Regions from separate parts of the Homo sapiens genome. Here regions 1 and 3 are each linked to region 2. Evidence: promoter capture Hi-C in 16 types of primary human blood cells and fetal thymus (Javierre and others, 2016). All regions are on one chromosome and are shown on one strand. Each heading gives the region's core, a stretch centred on a gene start or on the middle of the fragment in contact. The rest is flanking DNA. Distances are from core to core; before and after follow the strand shown.

Region 1 (4,179 bases), core at 589-3,088, 920 kb before region 2:
TGAGACTGAGAATTTACTAGGAGCAAAAATTTATTTCTTACCATTCTAGAGGCTTAGTTCAAGACCAAGGAGTTGGCAGTTGGTATCTGATGGGGGCCTTCCTGCTTACTCCTCTCATGGTGGAAGGCAGAAGAGAGTGAACCCACGCCCTCAAGCTCATTTATAAAGGCCTTCATCCCATCCATGAGGGCTTTGCCCTCAGGAATTAATCACTTTCTAAAGGCCCCATCTCTTAATACTACCACATTGGCAATTGTTTCAACATATGAATTTTGGGGGACACATTCAGTTCATAGCAGTGTTCTTTCCTAGGTGAACCTCCTTTGGCTTCTGGCTGAAGCTGTGGGTGCTGTCACCTGCTCCCCCACACTAACTTGGCAGAATGGTGGGTGCAGTTTCTGCAGGTTTGTATTCTCCCCTAGCTTCACTCTTCTGCCTTCTATTTAGATTCCTCTGGTAGCTGATTTCCTAGCCTGCTCTCTCCTGATTAAATCTTCCAGGATTCTCACATCTATTTGCTCCTCTGCTCTTGTTCTCATGGAACACTGGCTTTCTGAAAAGCTCACATAGGACTTCACTCCAGGCCTCACATATCCATGAAACAAATTTTTGTGTGGGAGGTTCCTGTGGTCTTTTACAAACATGTAAAATATGAAAACCCTATATGGTGATTTCTTTTCCTGTTTAACTTGCTCTTCTTTATCTGAGGTTATCCCTCCATCTCAACTCATGGTTTACTTACTGACCCAATGTCTTTCCTCCCATTTTAGAACAAAAATAATTATAGGTTTGAGATAGGTATCAGGTTTTTCTGTAATAAAGAGAAGGAATCATTTGTTGCTAACTAATCCCAGTGAGAATTTGGGGGGACGGGGAAGGAAAGCTTCTCAGGAAACTAAAGAGCCTGGTGAAATTAGAAAGGAATCACTTCCTACCCTTAGTGTCAGGGATTTAACAGGAATTATCTCTTCTTTCCTTTTCTCCCTTATAGACAATTGCTGTGAGGATAAGAAAAAGGCTGCTTTTATGCATGAGCTTAAGTCTGGATTAAGGAATGAATCACAACTGCTATTTTCTAGAGCCTCTTGTCACTGGGAAAGGCCAGGTCATACCATTTGGCTTCTATTTTATTAATCAATGAACAGCTTAAGAAAGTAGCACAACTTGCAGCTCAGATTGGCACTTTGTCTTCATTTTTCCCCCTTATTAAACAATATCCTTGTTGAGCCACCTGTAATTTCAGAATTTACTCATGTATATGTATTCATTCAACAACATTCAACAGCAAACACATTGTTGAGTACTATGGTGACTGAGTTCGTGAATTAGTGGTCTTAATTCTTCACTCCCCTGTAGTATAATGTACATTCTCATTCTTTTCATGGCTTCATGGTCAGAGGAGTGTACTTTTATGCCCCTTGTCTTTAGACTTGTCCATGGGTCTTTTTTTAATGATGGGATATAGCATACATGCTTTAAGTAAGGCCTTGAATTGTCCTTGTTCTTTTCTCATTGCCATGACAAGAATAGCTGCTATCCCCTTATCCAATGGGCCTCAGTATATGATACATGGTACAGAGATGCCCCAGCCAACTCACACATTTGCAGACTGAAGCAGTACCCTCCCAGCTGATCCACAGATGTGTGAATGAAAAATAAATACTTATTATTAAAACCATTGAGTTTGGGCTTGTTTATTATGCACTGTAGACATCATTTTCACAAAGCTGAGTAATATAGGCATTTAGATAAGGATATGAGACCTAAAACCAAATACAGAGTTTTTAACTTTTAAAATAGACTTACTATTTAGACTCACAGTTTATTAATAAAAATATATGTATAAACAAATACATTATTGCAATAAAATAAAGTTTGCAAAGAAGTATGAAGAAGCATATGGGAGTATATAGTTGAAAATACCTCATTCTGTCTTGAGAGGTCAAGAGAAAGTTGTCCATGGAAGAAACAAGGTTGAAACATTTGGATCTGGGGGAGAGGGACAGTGAGAACATTTCAGGCGGGAGAGTACAAACAGGAAACAGCACAGCTGGTTAAATCAGACATTAACCATGTTAATACCATATAATGTTAAATCAGACATTAACATTATATCATGAAAATGATGGACAATCAAAGGGGCCATATCACATATAGAGTAAGAAGAAATCTTGAGCACTTACCTGTAAAGGGTGCTGAAACAGCACAGGAGTTTAGAAGAAATAGAGAGCCAGTTAACACAAAGAAGAGAGTCCTTGTATAGCTGCCAAAATATAAATTGATCTTATTGCTGCCAATGTGGTCAGGAATCTCAAGTTGGGGGAAAAATCCTTGAAGCATTGACCTTATTGACCTTGGCTGTATTAAATACATGGTGAACAACTGTTTGAGGATTATCAGTTTGAAGGACTGCCAAATCATTTGACAACTAGGAACTCCAAGTCTTGATCCACAACATTTTCATCTTGTGGATGAGAAAACTAAGATTCAGAAGACCAAAATGTACTCAAATTCAAAAACCTAAAACCAGAAACCAGGTCTGATTTATCACTCCTGACTTCTTTCTACTATACTTTTTCCTGCCTTAAATTTACCAAAGCCTACGGAGAATGGGGAGATCTGCACAGGTAGAAGAGTCAGAATTGAGGTTTAAGAATATATATCACTATAATAATAAAGAATTAAGAGTTAGGAGAACAGAGAAGTTCCACATGCATAGAAACATCCATGATACCATGTCGTTTTCGACAAGAATGTGAATGTTTAGGGTTTTACAGAATGCCACCATACAAGGTAAGCTTTAGTTTTGGAAAAGTCACTTATGGTAAATTGACTAAACAGATGGGGTAGAAATTAATAAGAGCAGCTCCTCAGAAACACATCTAGAAGAAGCTACAACTGGCCTAACATCTTGCTTATTACCAACAGAGCTGTTGGGAGTAAAATACCTTCTAAAGCCAAGCACACAATGAAGAAAACTGAACAAAATAAACTGACACAATTCAGCAATATTATCTTCTGGGAAAATCTGGAAGATGTAAAGGCACTACTCTGTGCTTTTCTTCTCTTAATAACATCTAATATCTTCTATAAGATTAAATATTTTGGCGAAAAAACCAGAATCCTCTTTTACAGCTTGATAGAATTGTATCTATTCTTACAGATGATTTCAGATCCCTTCAAATATCCCTTGGAAGGACAGAATAGGTTATTCCTAAGCCATAGAATTCCCAGTAGTACATATTATAGCAAGGGACACTGAATGAGCAACCAATTAGCATTAACTGAGCACAAGTGTGCCCAAGACGGAGCATGTGTTGTTCACTTCACATTCTCCTGAGGCAGATGTCATGTCTTTCTCACACGTGTTCAGTAGGACTGGTGCAGATTCTGAGCTCTCATCTCTAAATGAAAATTGAACCATCAGTATGTGCAGGCTTGACAAAACAACAACAACAACAACAAAAACAGGGCTAGTTCAGTAGTTCAGTCTAAGGGAAAGGACCTGAGCTTTGAGTGAATTTAATGAAAACGTAAAATTATGAAGAACTGTTATTTAGAATATTGACATAAAAAGTGGCCTCTTAAGAGAAGATAAAGGTGAAAGCATTTATTGGTGTAAAAATAAAGTGGAGAAGAGCAGGAGCATTTAAATAACATATTTTGTTCCAAAGATCCAGAGATATCTCTGAGACTAAATACCTGCCATGAGTGAGACTGGTGAACTGTAGCTGGCACAGTGGCTCGCACCTATAATCCTAGCACTTTGGGAGGCTGAGGCAGCAGGAGCACTTGAGCCCAGGAGTTTGAGAACAGCCTGGGCAACATAGTGAGACCTAGTCTTAACAGAAAACGTTAAAATTAGGTGGACATAATGGTGCCTGCCTGTACTTGGTACAGCTACTTGGTAACTGAGGCAGGATGATTGAGCCCAAGAGTTCGAGGTTACAATGAGCTTTGATTGCACCACTGCACTCCAGCCTGGGTTATACAGACCAGGTCCTTGTCTCAAAAACAAAACAAAACTAGTGAACCTCAATAGACAGTTTTTTGCCCATATTTCAAATTGTCTGCTAAGTACGACTACTTCACTATATCCAAGCTACTGGATAAACCTATTTATCCCTGAAACAACCACAGAATAGATGTACTTCCTTTTGGAAGTACAAAAGGAAGATA
Region 2 (4,301 bases), core at 1,160-3,659:
AGCCTATGGTACTCAGTACAGTAACAGGTTTATAGCCCAGGAGCAATAGGCGGTACCATATAGCCTAGACATGTAGTAGGCTATACCATTTAGGTGTGCGTAAATGCATTTCATGATGTTCACACAATGACAAAATTGCCTAATAATGCTTTCCTCAGAATGTATCCTTGTTGTTAAACAATACAGGATGGTATAATGAAGCTACGTTTAAAGAAAATATATTCCATAATGTTCACACAATGACAAAATTGTCTAATGATGCTTTTCTTAGAATGTATCCTTGTTGTTAAACAATACAGGGTTGTATAATGAAGCTATTACAATAAGTTCTGCTATAACACTTGTTTTGAAAATACAAATTTGTTCCAACAAGATTGACATATTAGGGAATTGTTTGAACATAACACAATTTCGCATTTGTTTGTGTGTGATTTTGTCTACTTGAAACACTAGTCGAATGCAGAAAACTACCCAGATGACCTGAGCCACATAAGAATACACAAAACTCACACAGGTACAATCCTCAAACCTTACCAGTGACCTCAGTTCACTGCCTGAGTTATGAGCCACACCCATCCACATCTGGTGTAATAAATTTCCCCCGATTTCAAATAATGCTTCTTCTGCCATTTCACAACCCTTAAGCTGTGACCTTTCTGAGGCCCATTTCCACAAGCAAATGCCGTGTCTTTTTCAAGATAAAGGGTTATATTTGCTGTAGTATTTATGCATTTCTTAAGCATTTATCATGTGTAAATTCTTGCTACCATTTTTATTAGGTCTTGATCTGATTTTTATGGTCCATTGACAAAGTTTCTGAGTGCTCTGTCCTAAACCTCATGTTACCCATTAAGTCCTGTAGTTTTAATTGAACTTTTTTTTTCAGTGATACCGTATCTAAATAAATCCCTGGTGGTTACCAGGTGAATATAAATAAGTGTGTATATGCATACATACATTCATACATATATAATATTCGAACACAATTGAGGCATTTTGACATAAATCCAAAAAATTCCTTTTATATTTTAGAGGTAAATAAGCCTTTAAAAGTATTTATTAAATGTACTTGGGAGGATTTATTCAAAAAAGACTATCAATTATATTAAATAAAAGCCATTCAATACGCCAAGCTATATATAGATGTCTCCATAGTGGGTGAAGATGTGTCATTTATCTTTTAAGATAATTATGCAAACTATATTGAGCACACACATCCTGAGCTGGGAAATGACTTTTACATCTTTCTCCTCATTTATAAATCTTTTCCAACAGAAGTTATGCAAGATTCAGACTGGTCAGCACAGAGCTGGATTTTGGTGGTCCCTTTACAATAGGAGAGAATCCATTTTCCTCCTTAGGGTCTTTCTTTTCTTTAACGAAGGCATACAGAGCACTCAGCACATTCCCAGAGCTTCTTAGAATTTTTCCCTTGAGAGATCTCAGGAAATATGAGGAAAAACAACTTCAAAAAAATTAATGAAAGGCCTATCACTGTCTGCCTTTCTCTCTTTTAATCCCTGCCCTATCCTTTCTACTTTCTAGAAGTGTAGTGCCCCTTCAGTTTCAAACATTTTTCCTCTCCTTAAATTCCCAAGGTGGGATGCCCTTTTCTGGCACTCCGTCTATGAAAGGGACAGGGAAAAGATCTTATAGAAACTGAACCCTGACACGGGGCTTATTTTCCTAAGGACCAAAACATAAAAGGACAGGGTGGGACCATGGAAGGATTAATTTCAGGCAAGGGCAGCCTGTGGAGAGTGAGAAATCTGAAAAGGCTCTAGGCTTCTATGGGCATTCCCCTCCACTTCTTCTGCCTGCTGCCAGATGACTCTCACATGTGAATCCTTATTTCCTCAGGAATGCGGATCAGGGTTTGGCAAGTATGTTTTCAGTAAATAATTGCTGAATGTTCAACGCTTAAAGGCAGAAGCATAACTTTGAGTGTGCACAGTAATCACTGAAAATGATTCTGTACTCACCGTTTTGATGCAAATGCAAATTCTCATAGCCCCTGCACTGACTCCGTGGGTCACCTGTGAGTAACTCTAGCCAAAAGCCACGCACAAGCCCTGGTCTGCCTCCAGGCAGCAGACCACAACACAGTGCCCTGAGTGCACCTGCACACACCCATGGGCACACATTAAACCCATAAACGGCGGGTTATGCTAACGTGTACTTCCTTCCTCACTGCCTCACCTTGTTCATTTTCCTTTTTCCCCACCCCTCACCCCATACAATAGGATTTTTGTTTGCTTCAGTAGCATGTGACAGCACAGTCCCTGCTTTGCCTAGCTCTGTGCTGCAAGTCTCTCAGGTAACAGGTGGCAGCTTCCCCTGTTGGATTCTAGGTTTAAAAAAGAATGACCTCATGTGGGTGGAGCTCTGGGACTTCGTAGAGGTGGTGGCAGTCACAGCCAGGTAACCCTGGAGTGAAGCGGTTTAGTTAGAAGGGAGCAGATAAACTCGTCACTCTAGTAGCTTTAACCCTCACCCTGAGGCACCTTAGCAATCAGCCATTGCCTGCAAGCCTCCAAAGCTTGTCTTTGCCTAATATGGAGCCCAAAGAAGCCACTGGGAAAGAAAACATGGTCACCAAGAAAAAGAATCTGGCCTTCTTGAGGTCTAGACTCTATATGCTGGAGAGAAGGAAGACTGACACTGTGGTTGAGAGCAGTGTTTCTGGGGACCACTCTGGCACCTTGAGGAGGAGCCAATCTGACAGGACCGAATACAACCAGAAATTACAAGGTAACCAAAAAGAAATCAATTGTCCCAGTTACTGCACTCCCAGCTCCATTTCTGCTACGTTTCCAATTGCAAAGAAAACACACAAGGCAGAGGGGAAAATTGAATACCACCTCTCCTTCCCACAAAATAAGAAGATGAAAGTAAATGTGACCTATAAATTATAGGGAAAAAAATTTATTACGTGATTCAATGTTAAAGAGTCAATTCCGAATTACTCTTAATATTGCTGTGTTTTTCTTTTTTTTTTCCTGGTGAGGGTAATCATTTTTCTTCTAACTTCCTCTTTTCTTCTCCCTTCTCTACCCAACTTAAGAAGTGGGAAACACTGGAAAGCAAATGAGTTAGAAACCTACAAAAGATTGTTTATCTCAATGGGTAGATATGTGATATTACACCATGAGATATATCTAGGTAATGGTACTGAACTATGATTGTGGTTATCTTAAATAGGGGCATGAAACTATAATCGTGTCTGTGACAAAGAAGGAATGTTATAGTCAGAGAGACGGTATAAAAAGATTTGCTGAAATTCACTTAGGTGATTATTTCCTTTGAGTAAATTGAATAATACTCAAATATGGTAAGAAATGTTTAGCATGCTTATTTTGAATGACATTTGAGGAAATAACTTCAGTTTATTTTGTGATGGTACAAAGATAATTTGGCACAGTTATGATAGCACATCATTTGTTTCAGGGCCTTAATCTATATCCTGTCCTATCTATCCTTTCTTTCTCTCCTGTTTCCTGAAGGTCATTTGTTCTAGTAAAATTTCATTTTGATGTTGATATTGGGCAGCATTTTAAGTCTTTTCTTCGGTACTTGTTATGTGGTCCTCCAGAACTTGCCTCTCCTGCTTTTAGCACAAGGTGTGTCTGAACTCTCATCATCCCACTGTGAGCTGTCGTTTTGGATTTAAAAACTGTGATGAGGTCAGAAAGACCGATAGGACATGCTTATATTTAACAAATCTCTTTCCACAAATATGAGCTTAGATTTAGTTATGCAAATTAATTAAGTTAAATAAGTTAAATTAAATGCATTTAAATTAAATCTAAAAATTATTACTATAAGTTAATGTGTAAAAATAAAAAAAAAATTACCAGTAGTTCAGCACTAAAGCACAGCATCAATCTTATCCTCAAATACTTTTTTTTTAAAATGAGGGAGAGCATTGTTTAATCTTTGAAATTAATTTTTCTCCAAGCAATAGATACATTGGAAAGAATGGATGTCTTAAAATTTCAACTTTTATTTTAGATTCAGGGGGTATATATGTGTGTTTGTTACTTGCGTATTTTGTGTGATGCTGCGATTTGGGGTACAAATGATCTCATCACCTGGGTACTGAGCATAGTACCCAGTAGGTGGTTTTTCAGCCCTTGCCTCTGTCCGTTTCTCGCCACTCCAGTAGTCTCCAGTATCTATTGTTGCCACCTTTATGTCCATGTATGTCTAATGTTTAGCTCTCACTCATAAGTGAGAACATGCAGTATTTGGTTTGCTGTTCCAGCATTAATTTGCTTAGGATAATGGCCTCCGGTTGTATC
Region 3 (4,309 bases), core at 1,440-3,939, 940 kb before region 2:
GATATTGGCCTGTAGCTTTCTTTATTTGATGTGTCTTTTTCTGGTTTTGGTATCTGGCTAATATTGGCCTTATAGAAAAAGTTTGGAAGTACTCCCTCCTCCTCTATTCTCTGGAATAGTTTGAGTAGGACTGGTACTAGTTCTTCCTATATGTTTGGTAGAAATTGGCAATGAAGCCATCGGGTCCTGGGCTTTTCCTTGCTGGGAGACTTTTTATTATGACTTTGATCTGGTTACTTGTTATTAGTGTGTCTGGGTTATGAATTTCTTCACAATTCAATCTTGGTAGGTTGCTTGTGTCTAGGAATTTATCCATTTTCTCTAGATTTTCAAATTTATTGGCATATAGTTGTTCATAGTAGCCAGTAATGATCCTTTGAATTTCTGTGGTATCAGTTTTAATGTCTCCTTTTTTACCTCTGATTTTATTTATTTGGGTCCTCTCTCTTTTTTCATTAGTCTGGCTAAAGGTTTGTCACTTTGTTTATGTTTTCCAAAAAACCAACTTTTTGTTTCATTGATCTTTTGCATTGTTTTCTTCATTTCAATTTCATTTATTTCTGCTCTGATCTTTTTTTTTCTTCTACTAATTTTGGATTTGGTTTGCTCCTATTTTTCTAGTTTTTTAAGATGTATTATTAGGTTATTTATTTGAAGCTTTTCTTCATTTTTGATGTAGGCACTTATAGCTATAAAGTTCCCTGTTAGTACTGTTTTGCTGTGACTCATAAGTTTTGGCATATTGTTTCTTCATTATCATTTGTTTCAGTAAATATTTCAATTTCCTTCTTAATTTCTTCATTGACCACTGGTCATTCAGGAGCATATTGCTTAATTTTCATGTGTTTGTATGGTTTCCAAAATTCCTCTTGTTCTTGATTTCTAGTTTTATTCTATTGTAGTCAGAGAAGATGCTTGATATTATTTCAGGGTTTTTAAAAAAATGTTTTAAGCTTGTTTTGTGACCTAAAATATGGTCTGTCCTTGAGAATAATACATGTGCTGAGAAAAAGAATTTGTATTCTGCAGCTGTTAGATGAAATCTTTGGTAAATATCTATTAGGTCAATTAGGTCTATCTACAGTGCAGATAAAGTACAATTTTTTAATTGATTTTCTGTCTAGAAGACCTCTCCAGTGCTGAAAATGGGGTGTTGAAATCTCCAGTTATCATTGTAATGTTATCTATTTCTCTCTTTGGCACTAATAATATTTGATTTATGTATCTGGGTGCTCCAGGGTTGGGTGCATATATATTTACAAGTGTTTCATCTCCTTGCTCAATTCACCCTTTATCGTTATATAATGACCTTTTTGTCTCTTCTTATAGTTTTTGTCTTGAAATCTATTTTTTCTCTTCTTTTTTGGTTTCCATTGGCATGGAATATCCTTTTCCATCCCTTTATTTTAAGTCCATGTGTGTCTTCATTGGTGAAGCATGTATCTTGTAGCCAACAGATCACTGAGTCTTGCTTTTTATTCAATCAGCCGCTCTATGTCTTTTTACTGAGAATTTTAGTTCATTTACATTCAATGTTATTATTGATTAATATGAACTTACTTCTGCCATTTTGCTATTTGTTTTCTGGCTTTGTGGCCTTCTCTTCCTTCTTCCCATCCTTCTCTTTGTCCTTTTTGTGAAGATGATTTTCTCTGGTGGTATGATTTAATTTCTTGGTTTTTCTTTTTTGTTTATTGGTCGTATGTTTTTGATTTGAGATTACAATGAGGCTTGCAAATATAACTCATTATTTTAAGCTCATAACAAATTTAAACTGCTTGCATAAACAAACTAACAAGCAAAAAGAAAACTAATAAAAATTCTACACTTCAACTTTGCCCCCTACTTTTTAACTTTTTGTTTGTATTTATCTTATCGTATTGTCTATGTCTTGAAAAGTTGGCATAGTTCTTATTTTTGAGTGGTTCATCTTTTAGTCTTTCTACTTAAGATATGAGTAGTTTATCTACCGCAGAGTATTATAATAGTCTGTGTTTTTCTGTGTACTTGCTATTTATTACCAGTGAGTTTTGTACCTTCAAATGATTTCTTTTTTTCTGATTGAAGTACTCCCTTTAGCATTTCTTGCAGGACACATCTAGTGTGAGTGAAATTCCTCAGCTTTTGTTTGTCTGGGAAATTCTTCATTTCTCCTTAATGTTTGAAGGATATTTTCACCAGATATATTATTCTAGGATAAAAGATTTTTTCTTTCAGCACTTTAAGTATGTCACACCCCTCTTTCCTGGCCTGTAAGGTTTCCATTGAATAGTCTGCTACCAGACACATTGGAGCTCCATTGTGTTATTTGTTTCTTTTTTCTTGCTGCTTTTATAATCCTTTAATGGTTTATCTTTGGGAGTTTGATTATTAAATGCCTTGTGGTGATCTTCTTTATGTTAAATCTGTTTGGTGTTCTGTAACATTCTTATATTTGAATTTTGAAATTTTCTCTAGGTTTGGGAAGTTCCGTGATATTATCTTTTCGAATAAACTTTATACCCCTATCCATTTCTCTACTTTCTTCTTTAAGGCCAATAACTCTTAGATTTGCCCTTTTGAGGCTATATTCCAGATCTTGTAAGTGTGCTTCATTGTTTTTTATTATTTTTCATTTTATCTCCTCTGAGTGTGTATTTTCAAATAGCCTGTCTTCAAACTCAGAAATTCTTTCTTCTGCTTGATCAGTTCTGCCACTAAGAGACTCCAATGCATTCTTTAGTATGTCACTTGCATATTTCAGCTCCAGAATTTTTGCTTGATTCTTTTTAATTATTTCAATCATCTCTTTATTAAATTTCTTTGATAGAATTCTGATTTCCTTGTCTGTATTATGTTGAATTTCTTTAAGTTTCCTCAAAACAGCTATTTTGGATTGTCTGTCTGAAAGATCACATATTTCTCTTTCTCCAGAATTGGTCCCTTGTGCCTTATTTAATTTGTTTGGTAGGTGACAGTTTCCTGAATGGTGTTGATGCTTATGATTGTTCATCAATGTCTGGGAATTGAAGAGTTAGGTATTTATTTTAGTCTGTGCCGTCTGGGCATGTTTCTACCTGTCCTCCTTGGGAAGGCCTTCCAGGTATTTTAAAGGACTTGGGTGTTGTGATGTAAGCTGTTTCTGCATTAGGGACACCCCAAGCCCAGTAACACTGTGATTCTTGCATACTTGTAGAAGTACTACATTGGCAGCCTTGGATAAAATCTGGAGGAATCTTGTGGATTACCAGAGAGAGAGACTCATTCTCACTTTTTCTCCCAAACCAATGAAGTCTCTCTCTGTGTGCTGAGCCATGCAGAGCTGGGGGAGGGGTGACATGAGCATCCTGTGGCCACCGCCACTGGGGCTGTGCTGGATCAGAACTGAAGCCAGCACAGCACTGGGTCTCACCAAAAGCCCACTGTAACCACTACCTGGCTATTGTTTATGGTCACGTAAGGCCCTAGGGCTTCACAATCAGCAGGTGGCAAAGCCAGCCAAGTTTTTGTCCTGCCCTTCAGGGTGGCAAGTTCCTCCAGACCCTGGGCAGGTCCAGAGATACTGTCCAGGAGCCATGGAGTGGAATCAAAATACTTAGAAATCTACCTGATATTCTATTCTACTGCAGCTGAGCTGGTGCTCAAGCCACATGACACAGATCTGGCCACTCTTCTCTTCCTTTTCCAGAGGCAGAGGAGCTTCTCCCCATGGCTACCATCACTACTGGCCCATAGGGAGTACTGCCACTCTTGTGGCAAACTTCTCTTTATTTTTCCCTCCTCTCTCCTTAAGCAGAGTAAAGTCAGTTTTGTTGCTGTGAACTGTGCTGCCTGAGGTTGGGGGAGGGGTGGTGCAAGCACTCCCTCAATCTCTATGGCTGGTGTCTCACTGTCACATTCCCCCCAAGTACATTGGCTCTGAGCCCAGCACAGCCTTTGGACTTGCCTAGGAATTGTAGTCGTGTGGCCTACACTGCATTTCAAGTTTGTGTGTACTCCAGCACACGTTAGCCCATGGTGGTGAGGCTTGCTGAAACTGAGGTTCCGACTGCTAGGATTTGCTAGGATTGGCAATTCCTCTCTGGCGAGGGCTGGTTTAAATGCTCCGTCTGTGGGCAGGGATTGGCTGAGTTCGGCCAGTTTTGCTTTCTACTCTGACAGGGCAGCACTGAGTTGAATGCAAGGTCTCACAATCACTGCACTCTCTCTCCCCATAAGCACACAGATCCTCTCTCTGTGCCATGCAGTTGCTGCCAGGGGATGGGTGTTAGGAGGTGTTAGATGTTTAAGACTATTTTTTCTACCATCTTCAGTGCAGCAACATGAAGTT

The links. The method cuts DNA at HindIII sites, captures the fragments that hold promoters and counts their contacts. A CHiCAGO score of 5 or more calls a contact.
Region 1: a fragment that was not itself captured here is called in contact with the fragment with the promoter of ARHGEF38 in region 2 in 1 of 17 cell types (neutrophils); the score reaches 5.0 in neutrophils.
Region 3: a fragment that was not itself captured here is called in contact with the fragment with the promoter of ARHGEF38 in region 2 in 1 of 17 cell types (neutrophils); the score reaches 5.5 in neutrophils.

The regions. Positions count from the first base shown.
Region 1 is chr4:104,631,479-104,635,657 of GRCh38, forward strand. All of the region lies in intron 1 of CXXC4-AS1 (CXXC4 antisense RNA 1), which reads left to right. The region is part of intron 1 of LOC124900745 (a long non-coding RNA gene); the gene reads right to left. Among named protein-coding and RNA genes, the nearest start is that of CXXC4, 140 kb to the left of the region's middle. The HindIII fragment of the contact is 1,915 bases long and covers 882-2,796 here.
Region 2 is chr4:105,550,211-105,554,511 of GRCh38, forward strand. It overlaps ARHGEF38 (Rho guanine nucleotide exchange factor 38), which reads left to right and starts at 2,410. Exons shown (of 14, transcript NM_001242729.2): 1 at 2,410-2,751. The coding sequence starts at 2,556. It overlaps LOC105377352 (a long non-coding RNA gene), which reads right to left and starts at 2,074. Exons shown (of 5, transcript NR_188418.1): 1 at 1,983-2,074. The HindIII fragment of the contact is 3,088 bases long and covers 1-2,537 here.
Region 3 is chr4:104,612,614-104,616,922 of GRCh38, forward strand. All of the region lies in intron 1 of CXXC4-AS1 (CXXC4 antisense RNA 1), which reads left to right. All of the region lies in intron 1 of LOC124900745 (a long non-coding RNA gene), which reads right to left. Among named protein-coding and RNA genes, the nearest start is that of CXXC4, 120 kb to the left of the region's middle. The HindIII fragment of the contact is 3,477 bases long and covers 952-4,309 here.